Regions from separate parts of the Homo sapiens genome. Here region 1 is linked to region 2. The links are contacts of gene promoters, found by promoter capture Hi-C in human tissues and cell types (Jung and others, 2019). All regions are on one chromosome and are shown on one strand. Each heading gives the region's core, a stretch centred on a gene start or on the middle of the fragment in contact. The rest is flanking DNA. Distances are from core to core; before and after follow the strand shown. Region 1 overlaps PI4KB (phosphatidylinositol 4-kinase beta). Region 2 holds the start of CA14 (carbonic anhydrase 14).

Region 1 (2,700 bases), core at 73-2,572, 1.1 Mb before region 2:
CCATGCCCTGCCCACAAAGGCATATTTTCTTGGCATTCAAAACTAAATGAAGCAAGCTGGGCATGGTGGCGGGTGTCTGTAATCCCAGCTACTTGGGAGGCTGAGGCAGGAGAATCGCTTGAACCTGGGAGGCGGAGGTTGCGGTGAGCCAACATTGCGCCACTGCACTCCACTCCAGCCAGGGCAACAGAGCAAGACTCTGTCTCAAAAAAATAAATAAAATAAAAATAATAGTAATAATAAATAGCTAAAGCAATTTAACCCTATTCCCTACAACACCTTCTTCTCCATATGACTTGCTTCAGATGCAGGCAGTGCCTGGGTTCCTGAGAGGCCAGGGAAGAGACCCAGCTCCAGTTTGGTGGTTTCTAGTGGTAGAGCTGCTTATATAGGAGAGGAGTCTGTTTTTTCCTGCACCTCTCAACACTGTCTAGCTCCCTGAGGAGTAAAAGCTGCCGGGAGGGAGAGTCTGTTCAGTAGCAAAATCCTCTGAATACTGTGATGTGATTCTTAGCTGAGCCCTGGGAGTTTTTCTTTTGTCTGTGAGATAAAAGAGGTGATAGTATCCTTATTTGCCTTCCTGGTGCCAGTAATAATCCCAATCGTAGTTAATTGGGGCAGGCATCTGCTAAATTTTCTAGTGAGGTCTGAGACACTATTATGTGGGAGAATGTCTGAACTGTATTTCCCTTGAAAGTTTTGAAAAGTGTACTTCTAGGAGCTTTCAGTGACTTAAAAGTCTGTGGACTAGAGGGAGAGGAAAGGATGTACCAAACATAGAGACTGAGAAAAAGAAGTTGATTGTTTAAGATGATTGAGGCTATCACATGAGTTTCTAAGCAGACCTAAAAGGTAGTGGTCCCCGTTGAATCGGTGACCCTCTGATGAGAGTGCCCTACGAAGGTGTGGCAGGGAATGATTAAAGCTTCCTTCTTATTATTCCTGTGCAACTCACAGTTGCGAGTAGGGACAGATCCACATAGGCAGCCATGCTGGTTCTACTGCTCAGAGGGCACTACCTAATTTTGGGAGAGAGCATAGTGAAAGAGTTGCCACCTTCTTACCAATACCAAGCTCAATCTGCATCAGGGATATTAAATTCAGGAATGAACTTGCTTGGCAGAGTTGGCAGAAAGAAACAGAAATAGCCTTTTTTGGTGATCTCTGAGAACAGAAGAGTTCCCCATCCGTCTTTCTGCAAAACTTTAGTGGTGACTGCTGGGAGGCAGGGAGCTGGACTATATGATATTGGGCAGTTAAAAGTAACCTGGGGCCGGGCGCGGCAGCTCACACCTGTAATCCCAGCACTTTGGGAGGCCGAGGTGGGCAGATCACGAGGTCAGGAAATCGAGACCATCCTGGCTAACATGGTGAAACCCTGCCTCTACTAAAAATACAAAAAATTAGCCGGGCGTGGTGGCGGGCATCTGTAGTCCCAACTACTTGTGAGCCTGAGGCAGGAGAATGGCATGAACCCGGGAAGCGGAGCTTGCAGTGAGCCAAGATTGCACCACTGCACTCCAGCCTGGGCGACAGAGCGAGACTCCGTCTCAAAAAGAAAAAAAAAGTAACCTTAACATTTCAGACGTACAAGAACAGACACTGGAAGGGTGGTGGTGGAAAACAGCCTCCCAGAGGGACTAAAGAATCTCTAGGCCTCCTTATTCCACCTACCCAAAGTATATGCATCCAGGGTCACCGGGGTTGAAGGTGATGTCACTAATATTTTGAAATTACCTGTATTCCAACTCTACAAAATCTTTCCTCTTGCTCATGCTCTTGAGTGTGTCTTAGACTCACTCTATTAGCATTTTTGTGAAGAGGCCTCTGAGTCTGAGTCCTTTGTTAGCTATAGTCAGATTCTGGAGCCAGGTTGATCTGATGAAATTTCCCCAGTTCTGCACTGATTCCAGATTTGGTGAGGCTCTGAAGGATTGTTCTTGGAGAGCAGTGGCTTTGGTCAGCAGTGTTCTTTCATTGAACTTCCTTCCAACAGTCCCTCCAGAGGAGGTGTTCTTTGTTTTGTGACTCCTGTTCCTCCCTGTTCTTTGGAAGGCCTAGATCTATGAGTCCTAGTCTGATTTCTTTTTGCCTTTTCAATTGTCCCTCCAGTTGTTAGAATGTGTGTATGACAGTGGGGGGAGTGGTATTGGGGCAGAAAAGGCTGTCATAAGTATTTCTGGAAGATTCTCAAACAATTGGAACTCTTTGCTTCCCTTATAAAATAATATAAGTTTTATGTTACACACACACTGGTTAGTAACCTTTTAGGTGATGAGGATTCAACTAGCATTTCTTTTTTTTTTTTTTGAGACAGAGTCTCGCTGGTCTTGAACTGCTGACCTCAAAGTGATCCACCTGCCTCAGCCACCCAGTGCACTGGGATTACAGGCATGAGTCACTGTGCCCGGCCTCAACTAGCATATATTGAGTACTACTATGTATCAAAGACTGTGCTAGATTCTTTCATACACGTGATGGTATTTGTTCCACATAGCAACAATGAGAAGGAAGTGTTTTTTCCCAATTTGCAGTTGAGGATAAATGGCTTGCATAAGTTGCACATTTCTGAAAGGCTGAATGAGGATTTTCAACCCCAGCCTATTTGCCTTCAAGTCCAGAGCTCTTTCCATTATATGTTAGCAGCCACGGCACTGGAGAAAGAGGGTGTGATGTCATGATGTCAGACAACCAGAGAAA
Region 2 (2,700 bases), core at 191-2,690:
AAATTCCTCAAACTTGTGAGATGTCCTGCTCTTATCCTTGACCTATTCTGCTAGCCCAAGGGAGAGCTGGAGGCAGCCTCTCATTTTACCATATCTGTGGGACCCCCCAACAACTCAAACTCCCTGGTCTGTAAAGGTGCCTGTCCACTCTGGTCAGAGCCTCAACACACTTATTCTGTCTCTTCCTCCTCTTTCCCTCTTTTTTTCTTTCTCCTCAGATGAGATTTGTGACTCTCCATTTGGCTGCCTGCCTGCCCCCATCCTCTCTGCATTTGCCTTCTGCTCTCTGGACACCCACCTCACCCTGCTCTTTCCACAAACCTCAGTTACACACCTAGTATGTGCTGGACACTGTGCTAGGCACAGGAAACACAAAAATGAGGTCTAGGAGTTCCTGGGGACACTCCTGGAGCGCTTCAGCCTGTTCTCCCAAGAATCCCTCCTCATCTCCTGGGAGCTCCTGAAAGTCCTTTGTAAACTGTAAAATGTCAAACAAATGTTGACTCTTACTGCCACTTTCAGAGGATAACTGGGGAGTTAGTCGCTCCACAGAATGAAGAGGGAATCTTGGCCAAAAGGGGATGAATTGGAGATCAGGGTCTGAGTTGGGCAGGAAGTATTCTTCCCCCTACCCCCATCTATCCATCTTTTTACTCCAGGCCTCTTTGACTCCCTATTTGGAGGAGTTTGTAAATAAAGAAGTCCAGGAGTCCTGCCTGGGACCAGGGCAGTGGGGGAAAGAGCTCTGGAGAAAATCTGTAGCCTGCAAAGAGATTCCAGCACTTGCATGTGTACACACTCTGCCTGCCTGCCGCTAGTTCTCCCCGACCTCCAATAACAACAAGGCTGGAGAGACAAAAGGTAAAGAAGGGAAGTGGTCTCCTCCACACCCCACTCTTTTTTCCTCATCTCTGAGCCTATTATTCCAGCCTCTAGGCTTCCTTTCACACCTCTCCTCCCCCCATTAAGCACACCTGGCGACATGTGAACATCAGCACAAATCCACACACAGACATTTAGTTGTACCTACCCCCATCTGCAGCCAGGATCCAAATCACCTCCAGCAGGAGGGCGGAGAACAACATAGTGTCCCAGGAAGGGGTGCAGGGGACTGGGAATTTGAGGACTAGAGGACTAGGACAGGCAGAGAGAGAGGGAGGGAGGAGTGAGAGAGAGAGAGAGAGAGCGAGCGAGCTCCTGGCGTGAGTGTATTTATCTCTGCTTCTCTTGCTGTCTCTGTCTCTGTGGGCTTCCAGGGGATTCGGTGTTCAGTAGGGTATCATGGGTTTCTGGATCCCCAGGACAAATCTCTTGCTGCCTCTTTGCCCTCTCTCTTTATCTCCCTCTGCAGTCTCCACTCCACTAGCTGGCCAGCGACTTTACAACTGCCTCCTGCTTTTAAGGTGGCTCTGAACTGGTGTATGTGGGGACGGGGGTGCTGCCTGGGCTGCTGGTGAACAGCTCCTTAAATAGCCAATTAGGCATGCAGGATGGCCCCACTCGGAGCTGGAGCGCGGCAAGTTTCACTGGAGCCCTGGCCCTGGCTCAGGAGCCCAGCTGGGGTGAGCTCTTCCTTCCTCTGCTAGTCACACAGATGCTGTTTAGATGGGTGTTCCCTGGAGCAGGCAGGGTCAAGGAAGGGGCTTTGGGGTTCAACTCAGCCCCCTCAAAAGGACACTGTATTTTCATCCCCCCGCCTGATTTCTCCTCTGAGGAGCAGCTCCCTGGGTGGTATGCGGCAGATGGTGGGGGTACCTGTTCCCAATTCCCTGCATAATCTGAGCTGCCCTGGAATGGGAAGAGTCCAGAATTAGGAGATATATAACAAGAAGGAATTAGGGACTCAGGGTGCAGGGGAGGGGTGGAGGAAGTCAATAACTAAAACCTGAGTTGTGTCCTAAGTTCTAAGGAAGAGAAGTGAGGCAAGGAGAACTCATCTGGAGCAATCTCTTCTGTGCCTGCCACCACCCCCTTCCCACGGTGAGGCCTGGGTCCACGTGCCTGTGTGGCCTGGGGTGGGGGGAGTGCGGGGAGGGAGCGTTGTTTGCTGGATAAAGCCCATTTGTATGCCCAGTGGGGGAGGGGTGTAGCAGCACCATGGAGAGACAGCGGCTGTAACTGCCAGACCCAGCCACCTCCCTCTCCAGGGAGCCCAGATCTAGGGCGGCTTTTGTCACTGAAGAGGACACTGACCTCCGGCAGAGAGGCCAGGGCAGGAGGAAAGGAGAGACTTTAGGAACAATCACTACCACCATCAGAAAAAGGTGGTTTCCAGAGAAAGAGAGGGGAGGGTCTGGAGAGACCATGTGATCCAGATGGAAGAGGGGCTCAGGGTCTTCCTTCCAGCCCAACAAAGGGCTGAGGCAGGACATGTGGCACTGAATGAAACCTGCCACCAAGGAGCTGCGTCCGTGGAGCATGGAGGCTGCACGTCTCAGGAATGTGAACTGATGTTTGCTCCCCACGGGACTGGAAATCCCGATTGGAATGTACATCCTAAATCCCTCGTTAGAGAATGTGAAACCCACAGATACTTTCAAGCCAGACATTGAAACCTCTTTCTCCTCCATGCTCTTCACCAGAGGCACCAGCCAGGAGGATGCACCCATCTGAAGCTCCCTCTGCCCTCCTTGCTCCTGCCGAGTAGCAATAAATAGCCAAACAAAGGGAGCAGAAGCTAAATAAGGGAGCAGGATAAAA

Evidence for each region. Contacts are between HindIII fragments. The study calls those that stand out against the background at their distance.
Region 1: a contact is called between a fragment that was not itself captured here and the fragment with the promoter of CA14 in region 2, in 1 of the 25 tissues and cell types used here (hippocampus).

Annotation. Positions count from the first base shown.
Region 1 is chr1:151,318,904-151,321,603 of GRCh38, reverse strand. All of the region lies in intron 1 of PI4KB (phosphatidylinositol 4-kinase beta), which reads left to right. Among named protein-coding and RNA genes, the nearest start is that of PI4KB, 7.2 kb to the left of the region's middle. The HindIII fragment of the contact is 7,586 bases long and covers 1-2,700 here.
Region 2 is chr1:150,256,514-150,259,213 of GRCh38, reverse strand. CA14 (carbonic anhydrase 14) reads right to left here and starts at 1,440. Exons shown (of 11, transcript NM_012113.3): 1 at 1,031-1,440. The coding sequence starts at 1,085. RefSeq lists an enhancer at 2,556-2,700. The HindIII fragment of the contact is 12,121 bases long and covers 1-2,700 here.